3 separate regions of the Homo sapiens genome follow, and regions 1 and 3 are each linked to region 2. Evidence: promoter capture Hi-C in 16 types of primary human blood cells and fetal thymus (Javierre and others, 2016). All regions are on one chromosome and are shown on one strand. Each heading gives the region's core, a stretch centred on a gene start or on the middle of the fragment in contact. The rest is flanking DNA. Distances are from core to core; before and after follow the strand shown.

Evidence for each region. The method cuts DNA at HindIII sites, captures the fragments that hold promoters and counts their contacts. A CHiCAGO score of 5 or more calls a contact.
Region 1: a contact is called between a fragment that was not itself captured here and the fragment with the promoter of ATG4D in region 2, in 1 of 17 cell types (neutrophils). The highest score is 9.7, in neutrophils.
Region 3: a contact is called between a fragment that was not itself captured here and the fragment with the promoter of ATG4D in region 2, in 1 of 17 cell types (neutrophils). The highest score is 5.8, in neutrophils.

The regions. Positions count from the first base shown.
Region 1 is chr19:10,852,261-10,856,366 of GRCh38, reverse strand. It overlaps C19orf38 (chromosome 19 open reading frame 38), which reads right to left. Exons shown (of 7, transcript NM_001136482.3): 3 at 10-102. Among named protein-coding and RNA genes, the nearest start is that of C19orf38, 5.9 kb to the right of the region's middle. The HindIII fragment of the contact is 2,363 bases long and covers 1,355-3,717 here.
Region 2 is chr19:10,541,335-10,545,358 of GRCh38, reverse strand. It overlaps ATG4D (autophagy related 4D cysteine peptidase), which reads right to left and starts at 1,455. Exons shown (of 10, transcript NM_032885.6): 1 at 1,034-1,455; 2 at 493-576; 3 at 229-402. The coding sequence starts at 1,268. RefSeq lists an enhancer at 469-1,064 and silencers at 1,110-1,289, 1,340-1,679, 1,690-1,739. The HindIII fragment of the contact is 8,842 bases long and covers 1-4,024 here.
Region 3 is chr19:10,876,002-10,880,092 of GRCh38, reverse strand. All of the region lies in intron 1 of CARM1 (coactivator associated arginine methyltransferase 1), which reads right to left. Among named protein-coding and RNA genes, the nearest start is that of CARM1, 6.5 kb to the right of the region's middle. RefSeq lists enhancers at 263-1,105, 2,913-3,142, 3,323-3,472. The HindIII fragment of the contact is 1,353 bases long and covers 1,787-3,139 here.

The DNA.
Region 1 (4,106 bases), core at 1,287-3,786, 310 kb before region 2:
TGCTGTTACCTTTTCTGACCACCAGGGCAACAGCCACCAGCCCAGCAAGGAGGAAGAGGGCACCAGCCAGGCTCAGGGAGAGCACCAAGATCCAAGTGGGCACTGGAGGAAAATCAGAAAAGAGAGTGGGCAGGTCAGTGTCGTCTCTCCAGGTTACCTTTGAGTAGCCAGCCCTTACCCCATAACCCCCAACCAAAGAACATGAATGCAGCTGGACCCAAGAGACTTAGCAAACTTTGTGTCTGGCCAATTAGCCTATCCCCCGCTCCTGGCTATTGTGATTGGTTCAGGATGAGCATGTAACCCAAGTGGAGCCAATGAGAGCTAACTCTGGGACTTTGGTGGTACCACTGGGAAAAGAGGTTTACTCCTCTGGCTAGCATTGCATAGGATAGATATCTTAGGCCAGGTGCGGTGATTCATGCCTGTAATCCCAACACTTTGGGAGGCTGAGGCAGGTGGATTACTTGAGGCCAGGGGCTCAAGACCAGCCTAGCCAACACAGGGAAATTCTGTCTATATTAAAAATATAAATAATTGGCCAGGCGCAGTGGCTCACGCCTGTAATCCCCACACTTTGGGAGGCCAAGGCAGGTGGATCACTAGGTCAGTAGATCGAGACCATCCTGGCTAACACTGTGAAACCCCGTCTCTACTAAAAATACAAAAAATTAGCCAGGCGTGCTGGCACGTGCCTGTAGTCCCACTTACTCAGGAGGCTGAGGCAGGAGAATCACTTGAACCCGGGAGGCGGAGGTTGCAGTGAGCTGAGATGGCGCCACTGAACTCCAGCCTGGGTGACAGAGCAAGACTCTGTCTCAAAAAGAAACAAACAAAACAAAAAACAACAAAACCCCACAAATAATTAGCCAGGTGTGGTGCACACCTGTAATTCCAGCTACTTCAGAGGCTGAGGCACAAGAATAGTTTGAACCCGGGAAGTGGAGGGTGCACTGAGCTGAGATCGTGCTACTGCACTCCAGCCTGGGTGACACAGAGAGACCCCATCTGAAGAAACAAACAAAAAAAGAGATGGCTGGGCACGGTGGCTCACGCCTGTAATCCCAGCCCTTTGGGAGACTGAGGTGGGTGGATCACCTGAGGTCAGGAGTTCGAGATCAACCTGGCCAACATAGTGAAACCTCGTCTCTACTAAAAATACAAAAATTAGCCAGGTGTTACGTGCCTGTAATCCCAGCTACTTGGGACGCTGAGGCAGGAGAATCGATTGAACCCAAAAGGTGGAGGTTGCAGTGAGCCGAGATTGGGCCATTGCCTTCCAGTCTGGGTGACACAGCTAGAATCTGTCTCAAAAAAAAAAAAAAAAAAAAAAAAAGAATATATATCTGAAGCTTCAGGGCACAATCTTGCCTCCATGAGGGGGAGAAACTACCTGAGAATAAGACAGAAGAGGAGCTGAGAAGGCAAATGCTTTCTGTCATTTTTCAGCACCTGGATCCAGCCATATCTGAAGTCAGCCATGTAAACTGACTTCAGCTCAGTGAACCAACAAATCCCCTCTTGCTGGTAGAGCCAGTGTGAGTCAGGTTTTTATTACTTGCAGTCTGGGTGCCAGTGGCCAGATGACATCCACCCCCAGCCCAACGGTAGACCCTGAGATCCACCCAGAAGCTAGTCACACAGGCATGGGAGTGGCAGTTCCAGAGTCACCTTCTCAGCACAAGACTTCGCTTCCCCTTCCTGGAGAAAGAGGAGATGCCCTGACCCCAAGGGAGGTGAGGAGCTAAGCCAGAAGAGGGAAGAAGACAGACGCTTGGTATTCTCACAATGTCAGCCTTGTTCATTGATTCACCTGGGGCAGAAGGGGTGTTGTCAGCTCCCTACTCCAAGGCCACAAGGCCAAGGTGAGAGAAGGGGGCCTTTGATAGAGGAGCCTGAGGCCGGGAAGGACAGAGAACTGCCCTGTCATAGCTGCATGTTGGCCTCGGCTGGCAACAAGATTATTTTTTGCAGTGAAAAAGTTCTTTTTAAAAGTTTTTTTGGGCCAGGCGCGGTGGCTCATGGCTGTAATCCCAGCACTTTGGGAGGCCGATGTGGGCGGATCACTTGAGGTCAGGAGTTGAAGACCACCCTGGCCAACATGGTGAAACCCCATCTCTACTAAAAAATACAAAAATTAGCAGGGTGTGGTGGTTGGCGCCTGTAGTCCCAGCTACTCGGGAGGCTGAGGCACGAGAATCGCTTGAGCCTGGGAGGCAAAGGTTGCAGTGAGCCGAGATTGGGCCACTGCACTTCAGCCTGGGCGACAGAGTGAGACTCTGTCTCAAAAATTAAAAAAAAAAAAAAGTTTTTACAGACAGGGTCTCCCTCTGTCACCCAGGCTGGAATGCAGTGGTGCGATCATGGCTCACTATATCCTCTACCTCCCCGGCTTAAGTGATCCACCTGCCTCAGCCTACTGACACATGCCAGCAGTCCCTCCTAATTAAAAAAAAAAAAAAAAAAACATTAGCCGGACGGGGTAGCTCACGCCTGTAATCTCAGCACTTTGGGAGGCTGAGGTGGGCGGATCACAAGATCAGGAGATTGAGATCATCCTGGCTAACACTGTGAAACCCCTTCTTACTAAAAAAAAAAATACAAAAAATTAGCTGGGCATGGTGGCACATGCCTGTAGTCCCAGCTACTCGGGAGGCTCTGAGGCAGGAGAATCGCTTGAACCCGGGAGGCAGAGGTTGCAGTGAGCCGAGATCGTGCCACTGTACTCCAGCCTGGGCGACAGACCGAGACTGTCTCAAAAAAAAAAAAAAAATTGGGGGGAGCTGGGCATGGTGGCTCACGCCTGTAATTCCAGCACTTTGTGAGGCCGAGGCAGGCAGAACACCTGAGGTCAGGAGTTTGAGAGCAGCCTGGCCAGCATTGTGAAACCCCATCTCTACTAAAACTCAAAAAGTAGCTGGGCATGGTGGTGCACGCCTGTAATCCCAGCTACTCGGGAGGCTGAGGCAGGAGAATTGCTTGAACCTCGGAGGTAGAGGTTGCAGTGAGACTCGAGAGGCTGAGGCAGGAGAATTGCTTGAACCTCGGAGGTAGAGATTGCAGTGAGCTGGGGTCACACCACTGCACTCCAGCCTGGGCGACAGAGTGAGTCCCTGTCTTTACAAAAAATAGACATATTAGCCAGGCGTGGTGGTGCACGGCTGTAGTCCCAGCTGCTAGGGAGACTGAGAAGGGAAGATTGATTGAGCCCAGGAAGTGGAGGCTGCAGTGAGCTGTGATTGCGCCACTGCACTCTAGCCTGGTCAACAAAGCAAGACCCCTATCTAAAAAAAAAATAAAATAATTTTTTTTTTTTTTTGTAGAGACAGGGTCTCACTATGTTGCCCAGGCTGATCTTGAACTCCTTGGCTCAAGGAATCGTCCTGCCTCAGCCTCCCAAAGTCCTGGGCTTATAGGCGTGGGTCATTGCACCCGGCCAGGAAAGTTCTGACTGATGGTAACACAGAAGGCCACCAAAGGCTCCTCCCTCCTGCTTCTTGACCCATAACCCATGTCCAGCCTCCTCATTCAGAGATCAGAAAAGGACATCAGCCCTGCCAGGGTTCCCTCACTCAGGTGAAAAGATCGAATCCTTGCTGTGGTCTACAAGACCCCCCACGATCCTCCTGGTGAACTCCCTGCCCCGCCTCTCCCCATTTTCCTCCTTGTTCACCATCCTTCAGCCATACTGGGCTCCTCAGACACACCAGGGAAGCTTCAGCCTCGGGGCCTTTGCACATCCTGTATCCTCTGCCTGCAACACATGCCCTGGATATCCACATGATTGGCTCCTCCTCATCATTCAGTTTTTTGCTCAAATGCCACCTCCTCAGAGAGGGCTTCCCTGATTGCCCTACTCTACTTCAGAGTCCAGAGGGCTGACCATTAGAACATGGGGCCAGTCGCCCTACTCTACTTCAAATAATGACATCCTCACCCAGGTGGATTTCATCTGGTGCCCTGCTGGCAGGTTGAATATATATTGGATTTCATGTTTATCATCTGTCCTCATCCGCCTGGAATGTCAGCCTGGAATGTCTTTGGGCAAGCCCAAAGACAGTTCTTGGTCCATAGTAAGTGCTCAGAAACCTTATGTGGCTCATGCT
Region 2 (4,024 bases), core at 206-2,705:
CGCAAGGGATCCATCCGCCTCAGCCTCCCAAAGTGCTAGGATTACAGGCATGAGCCACCGTTTCCAACCCCGGCTGAAACTCTTATAAACAACTCTCATCTCTCCAAAACTTACTTGACACACAATTCTAACGTGACTTTGAACTCTTAGTTGGTAAGTAATTCTAATACTGCTGATATGGCAGTTGACCCTGTACTCCTAGTGCACCCCTTCCCCCCTATGGCTCACCTCTGGGCAGGAAATGCAGCAGAAGGCCCTGTGCCAGCATCATCTGGCCGCTGCGTAACATGCACCCCCAGCCACAGTCCGAGGTCAGGCAGCCCCCAGGAAGGGGCGGGAAGTCCCGGCGGTATGTGAGCCACAGGCGGGACACAAAGTCCCGCTGGAAACGCTGTATGTCACCTACAAGAGCGGGTCTGTCAGCTGCCACCAGGGACACTCCGGCGGGCGTGGAGAGGCCTCCCCCAGCCCTGGTCCCAACCACCAGCTCACCCTCGCCCTCGAAACGGTAGCGGCGGCCACAGAGGTGGATGCTGGAGATCTTGCTAAAGCTGGTCCGGCTTTTAACCACCCAACCTGGGGAGACGTAGGGGCAGCGCCCAGCGAGATGAAGCACTTGCATGACAGCAACAGCGCTTCCATTCCCCCATCTGTGAAATGGGCACGATCCTAGTTCCTATCTCCGGGGTGGCTCCGGGGATTCCGTCGGAGGTGGGGCCCCCAGTGACAGCTACAGGAGTGTCCACCATCAATTCAGGATGAAGGAAGGTAGTTCTGATTATTGTACCCATTTTACAGAGAGGGGCAAAAACGGAGGCGCCAGGAAGCAAAGGATCTTGCCCAAGGTCACACAGGGGAATGGGCGGGGCTTGAAAACACTATTGGACCTGCCACAGGTCCACCCTGGGCCGGGCAGGGAGGGGACCCACAGGTGACTCAGGACGGGAACAAGGGTGGGATAACTGGCAGGACCGGGGTCTGGTTTTCCTCAACGGCCCCCGACACCCCCACGATCTCCGGGCCCCCTCCTCACCGTACTTGACGTTGTTCCAGGCTGTCAGGAACTTGGCCTTGAACTTGTCCACTTCGTCCGGCTCACTCGGGCCAGCCCCGGGAGAGCCAAGAGCGGGGCCGCTGGCTCCGGAAGGCCCCAGGCCGTTGGGGTCTGGGCCTCTGGGACCCCGCGGCCTGCGGGCCTCGGGCCGGCGGCGCGCGTCCTCCGGGCTGCTGCTCCGGTACTGCGCGGCGGCCGGCGACACTGAGTTCATGGACGCGCCGGGAGGGCGGACCGAGGGCCCAGGTGGGGGGCTGCGGCCGCTGCCCCCCAAGGGCGACCCGCAGCCGGTTCACGGGGCCCGGGGAAGGCGCTACTCGGCCCCCGTCCCCAGGGTACCGGGCCAGGCAACAGCCGCCGCCGCTGCTACCGCAGCCATCGCCATCTTAGCGGGCCAGGACCCCGGATGACGGTGGGCGTGGCCAAGCCAGACGCCCCGCCCCGCCCTCTCCCCGCCCAGCCGCCTTTCCTGCCCCGATCCCGGGTCGCCAGGCGGGGACCTCAAACCCCGACGCCTTCCCGCGGCCTCCCCCCGCCCTCCTTATCACACCGCCAGGAGCGCGACAGCCCCTTCAGGCCCTTATCGGAGGCAGCAGAGCTGGGGAACCCCTGCCCCTGGCCCCGCCCCTAGTCCTGCCCCCCAGGGCCCAGGACTGACCTCCTGGCAGGCGCCCAGGTGAGACTGACTGCGCACCTGCAGCGCCCGCCCCGCCTCCCGAGTGCACCTGCGCGGGCTGCCGACCCAGAACCCGCCCTGGCCTGGGACCAAATCGACTAGTGTGACCTCCGGGGCAAGCCACGCCTCTCTGTGCCTCAGTTTCCTCATGTGCAAAATAGGGCTGGAATACACGCAACAACATAGACGAATCTTCATGAGAATTATGCTCAGGGAAAAAAAATCCAGGGGTAGGCAGGCGCGGGAGGGAGGGATGAATGAAGTGCTCCAGGAAAGTTTTTTTCAGTGTTTGTTTTGTCGAGACAGCATCTGGCTCTGTTGTCCAGACTGGAGTGCAGTGGCGCTTTCATAGCTCACTGCAGCCTCCAACTCTGATCCTCCAACCTCAGCCTCCAGAGTAGCTGAGACCGCAGACAGGAGCCACCATGCCTGGTTAATTTTTTAAATTTTATTTGTAGATAAGGGGTCTCGCTATGTTGTCTAGGCTGGTCTCAAACTCCTGGCTTCATGAGATCCTCCCGCCTCAGCCTCCCAAATGCTGGGATTACAGGCGTGAGCCACCACCTCAGGCAGGAAGACATTTTTTGGAGCTGTGGATAAATTCAGTATCTTAACTGTAATAGTGGCTTCACAGGTGTGAAAACTCATCAGATTGTACGCTTAAAATTTGCATGGTTTTGTATATGTCTATTATACCTCAATAAGGCTGAAAAAAAACCTCTTTGTTTTAAAAAGTAATCAGTTAACTTTTTATAGAGACAAGTTCTCTCTATGTTGCCCAGGCTGGCCTGAAACTCCTTAGCTCAAGTGATCCTCCTGCCTCAGCCTCCCAAGTAGCTGAGACTACAGGAAAATATTTTATTTTATTTTATTTTTTAATTTTTTTTCTCTAACCTTGCGAGGCCCAAACAGATTTTGGTTGTTGTTGTTGAGACAGGGTCTTGCTCTGTCATCCAGACTACAGTGCAGTGGCCTGATCATGGCTCACTGCAGTCTCAACTGCCGAGGCTTAAGCAAGTCTCCTGCCTCAGCCACCTGAGTAGCTAGGACTATAGGCACATGCCACCACCCCTGGCTAATTTTTTTTTTTTTTTTTGAGACGGAGTCTCGTTCTGTTGCCCAGGTTGGAGTGCAATGGCGCGATCTCGACTCACTGCAAGCTCTGTCTCCCAGGTTCACACCATTCTCTTGCCTCAGCCTCCCGAGTAGCTGGGACTACAGGCGCCCGCCACCACGCCTGGCTGATTTTTTGTATTTTTAGTAGAGACGAGGTTTCATCGTGTTAGCCAGGATGGTCTCGATCTCCTGACCTCGTGATCCGCCCACCTCGGCCTCCCAAAGTGCTGGGATTACAGGCGTGGGCCACCGTGCCTGGCCACCCCTGGCTAATTTTTAAAAATTTTTCTGTAGAGATAGAGTCTCCCAGTGTTGCTCAGGCTAGTCTTGAACTCCTGGGCTGAAACGATTAGCCTCAGCCTCCCAAAGTTCTAGGATGACAGACATGAGCCACTGCACCTGGCCAGGGACAATTTTTATTTTTTATTTTATTTTCATTTATTTATGTATTTATTTTGAGATGGAGTTTCGCTCTTGTTGCCCAGGCTGGAGTGCACTAGTGCGATCTTGGCTCACTGCAACCACCACCTCTCAGGTTCAAGCAATTCTGCTGCCTCAGCCTCCTGAGTAGCTGGGATTACGGGCGCACACCACCACGCCCAGCTAATTTTTGTATTTTTAGTAGAGATAGGATTCCACCACGTTGGCCAGGCTGGTCTCGAACTCCTGACTGAGGTGATCCGCCAGCCTCGGCCTCCCAAAGTGCTGGGATTACAGGCATGAGCGATTGCACCCAGCCAGGAAAAAGTTTTAAATGTGTCTAACTCATAAAGATGTATGGGAATGAGCTGAACTTACCAATGTAAAGTGCTTAGAGTGGTATTTGAGGAACAGTTGGGGCTCAGTGAGAGCCAACTGCATGATGACAATGCAGTGACCCTGTGAGCCATGGAGAGGGTGGCCTCTAGTGGCCAGCCCCGGGGCTCTGTCCTCAGCTCTCTGAAGGAGGTAAGAAAGATTTGAATGAGGGTGTGATCCAAGAAGGAGAAGGCACAAAAGGGGCAGTCACCTCCCTGACTTTCCTTTTTTCCCCTCTCCTCCCAGTCGCCTTCAATCACAATTGACCCCTTTCTCTTTCATTAATTTATTAATTTATTGATTTATTTTATTTTATTTTTTTGAGACAGAGTCTTGCTCTGTAGCCCAGGCTGGAGTGCACTGGCACAATCTCAGCTCAC
Region 3 (4,091 bases), core at 1,214-3,713, 330 kb before region 2:
GGTCTGAGGTGTGTGAGGCTTGGCATCTCAAAGTCATTAGCAAGTTCACACCACACTCCAGCTTCTGTTGAAAGGCCTTGCCCACCCATCTCATCCAGACCCCCTACACAGAGGGCCAGTGCTTGGTGACCAGGAGCTGCTCACAGCACTGGACACCTTCCATTAAGATTTCACCTGAGGCTGGGTGCGGTGACTCATGCCGGTAATCCTAGGACTTTGGGAGGCCAAGGCAGATGGATCACTTGAGGTCAGGAGTTCAAGACCAGCCTGGCCAAAAGGGTGAGACCCCCGTATCTACTAAAAATACAAAAATTATCTGGGTGTGGTTGCACGCACTTATAATCCTAGCTACTTGGGAGTCTGATGCAGGAGAATGACTTGAACCTGGGAGGCTAGAGGTTGCAGTGAGATGACATTGAGCCACTGTGCTCCAGCCTGGGTGACAGGGCGAGAATTCATCTCCAAAAAAACCAAAAAAATCCTCGATTCCAACCCAGCCCTGTTTCCACTTTTAGCCCCTCCACTCCTCACAGGGGACCCTGTGCTCCAAGCCAGGTGGCTGTCTCCAGCCCTGGCCCACTGGAGCACCTCTCCATAACCCAGAAACGTCCTTCCCAACATTCTGGCCAGGTCCAGATCCTACCCACTGTGGCCAAGGTGACTCCCTGTATGTTCTCTCTTTGTCCATGGAAACTGGAACCCTAAATTCAGCTGAGCACATGGCCGCTCAGATTGAAAACTACATTTCCCAGCATCCCTTGCAGCTGGCAGTGATCATGTGACTACATTCTAGCCAACAAAATGAAAGCTGAAGCACCTTGCATCAGCTACCGGGAACCTTTCTTAACAAACACCTGGATGTGACCTTTGCACCCTTTCTCCTTTGTCCCTTCCTCTGTCCTGCTGTCTGGAAGCCAGGGTGTAATGGCGGGACTCCAGCAGTCATGCTGAAACCTGAGGACAAGACCTCACCTTAAGAATGGTGGAGGATCAGCCTGGGGCAGTGGCCTGTAATCCCAGCACTTTGGGAGGCCGAGGCGGGTGGATCACCTGAGGTCAGGAGTTTGAGAACAGCCTGGCCAACGTGGCGATACCCCGTCTCTACTAAAAATACAAAAATTAGCCAGCCGTGGTGGCACACGCCTGTAGTCCCAGATACTTGGGAGGCTGAGGCAGGAGAATCGCTTGAACCCGGGAGGCAGAGGATGCAGTGAGCTGAGATCACACCACTGCACTGCAGCCCCTGGGCAACAGAGCGAGACACCATCTCAAAAAAAAAAAAAAAGCCGGGGGGAGGACCTGGATCTGGGAACTTCCAAGAGCCCAGGAGACTTTGGCACCTGACAATCTTCACACTTTAGCATTAGAGCACAAAAAATAAAATGCCATCGTGTTTAATTAAGCCTCTGCTACTTTGGGTCTTTGTGATGAACAGATAAATGTCACTGAACCACTTATATATGCATTTAAGGTGGGCATCCAGTCACCCAGAATGCCAAAGCCATCTCTGCTGCCTGCCAACCACATCACTTTGGCCAGTCAAGTTCTTTCATTTCTGTTTTTCCACCAGTAAATTGGGGTTGGTATCTCTGACCTCACAGAACTCTTTTCAGAGTAAGTGGTAACATACAGTAAGCGCCACAATTGGCACAAGGGGCTCACACAATTCAGAAGTATGCTCTATTCGGCCTGAGGATTTTTTGGTTTCTCTTTTGGCTGGGGCCAAACTCCCCACAGACCCCAACTCCTGCCTGCCTCATTCATTTATCCCAGGGGTCTACAAGCTTCCCCTGCCTCGGGCCAGTGAGTAAATATTTCAGGTTTTGCAGGACACTGTGGTCTCAACTGATTATTGTTGTTTGTGGATTGGGTTTTAGTTTTTTTCCCTAATCAATCTCTCAAAAACTGTAAAAGCCTTTCTTAGCTTTGTCTGTACAAAAATAGGCCACACCGGGCCCAGCGGTTCGTGACTATAATCCCAGCTACTTCTGAGGCTCAGGCAGGAGGAGGATGGTTTGAGGCCAGGGGTTTGGGGCCAGCCTGGGAAACACAGCAAGACTCTGTCTCTAAAAAAATTGCTTAAATTAGCCAAGGGTGGTGACATGTGCTTGTAGTCCCAGCTACTTGGGAGGATGAGGCCAGAGGATCACTTGAGCCCAGGAGTTAGAGGCTGCAGTGAGCTACTAAAATACAAAAAATTAGCTGGGCATGGCGGCATGTGCCTGTAATCCCAGCTACTCGGGAGGCTGAGACAGGAGAATCGCTTGAACCTGGGAGGCAGAGGTTGCAGTGAGCCGAGATTGCGCCACTGCATTCCAGCCTGGGCAACAGAGCGAGATTCCATCTCAAAATAAATAAATAATAAAACACAGGCTGGGTGCGGTGGCTCGCACCTGTAATCCCAGCATTTTGGGAGGCTGAGGCAGGCAGATTATTTGAGGTCAGGAGTTCGAGGCCAGCCTGGCCAAGATGGTGAAACCCTGTCTCTACTAAAAATACAAAAATTAGCCAGGGTGGTGGCACAGGCCTGTAATCCCAGCTACTCAGGAGGGTGAGGCATGAGAATCACTTGAACCTGGGAGGTGGAGGTTACAGTGAGCCAAGACCATGCCATTGCACTCCAGCCTGGGCAACACAGTGAGACTCTGTCTCACTAATAAAATACAAACACAGATAAAAATAGGCCACAGGCTCAATGTGGCCCATAGGCCTAATTTATATCACTGCCCTTTCCCTAGCTGCCCCCAAGGTCAAGCATTTTGAGTCAACACAAGTTTATGCACAGTCTGGTACGGGATAAATGCTCAATAAATGACGGTATCCATTAGCCACACGCAGGCACCGCTGAAACACAAATGCCTTTCTGGGGTTACTAACTTTCCCTGTTGTCACTCCAGCTTGACACCGAGATGTCCTAAAGATGGGGCACATAACAAGCTCTTCTATACCCCTGCCCCAGCTGTCAGGGGGATCCCAGGAGTGTAACCAAAGGAAGTCACAAGGGCCCCTGGTTCGGTGACAGCAGGCCATTCTTCACCTTCTTTGGACAAAGGGTTTTTCTCTGAACTTTCCACCCCATGGCATGCCCCTCACAAACTGAAGTTTAGCCCCTGACGGAGCCCATGCTGCTGTGTAAGCTTCTGAGCCAAGGGGATGGGAGAGTCTAAAGCACTGGCCACACTGACTCGTGCTGACCAAGAAAGAAAAGTGACACAGTCATTTCCAGAAAGAGCGCCACAGGGCTGGGGAAGTGAGAGTTTGTTCTGTTCTCTTTCCCGGCACCCCTCCCTGAGAAACTGCCTCCTTTCCAAGGGAGGGCAGCCTATGCCCAGGAACTCCAGAGGCCATGCCAAAGCTTCCTCAAGCCCAGGAAGCCCACGCCAAAGGGCCTCCCCCTCTGCACAGGGAAAATGGCCTGGTGTTGGTAGTTGCCATTTGGCCAATCTCATGGACGTAGGCCAGGGTGACTTCAGATGGCAAGAAGTAACTGTTCACTACAGAGTGACAGAGACAGGCCCTTCTGCAGCTGTCATCCTTCCCCTGGAGGGTGCAGACGTCAAGGAACAGGGCTGGAAGTCCTCCCCACGTGCCTCTCCTGGGCCTCCTATGTTAGGTACAGATCATGGCCCAGGACTCCCTCCCATGGCCGGTGAGCCAAGACAGCGGGGCAGCCCTGGAGCATAGGGGGCTCCTCCTAGAAAAGCTAGCTCATTCCCATGCCACACCAACGAACACTGCTGTCAGTAACATGGACATAAATATTTATTGGCCGGGCGCAGTGGCTCACGTCTGTAATCCTAGCACTTTGGGAGGCCAAGGCAGGAGGACTGCTTGAGCCCAGGAGTTCAAGACCAGCCTGGGCAAAATAGTGAGACCGCATCGCTAGAAGAAACTTAAAAATTAGCCATATGTGAGGCTGGTGGCGGTGGCTCACACCTGTAATCCCAGCACTTTAGGAGGCCAAGGTGGGCGGATCACCTGAGGTCAGGAGTTCGAGACCAGCCTGACCAACACGGAGAAACCCCATCTCTACTAAAAATACAAAAAAAATTAACCGGGCATGGTGGCACATGCCTCTAATCCCTGTAATC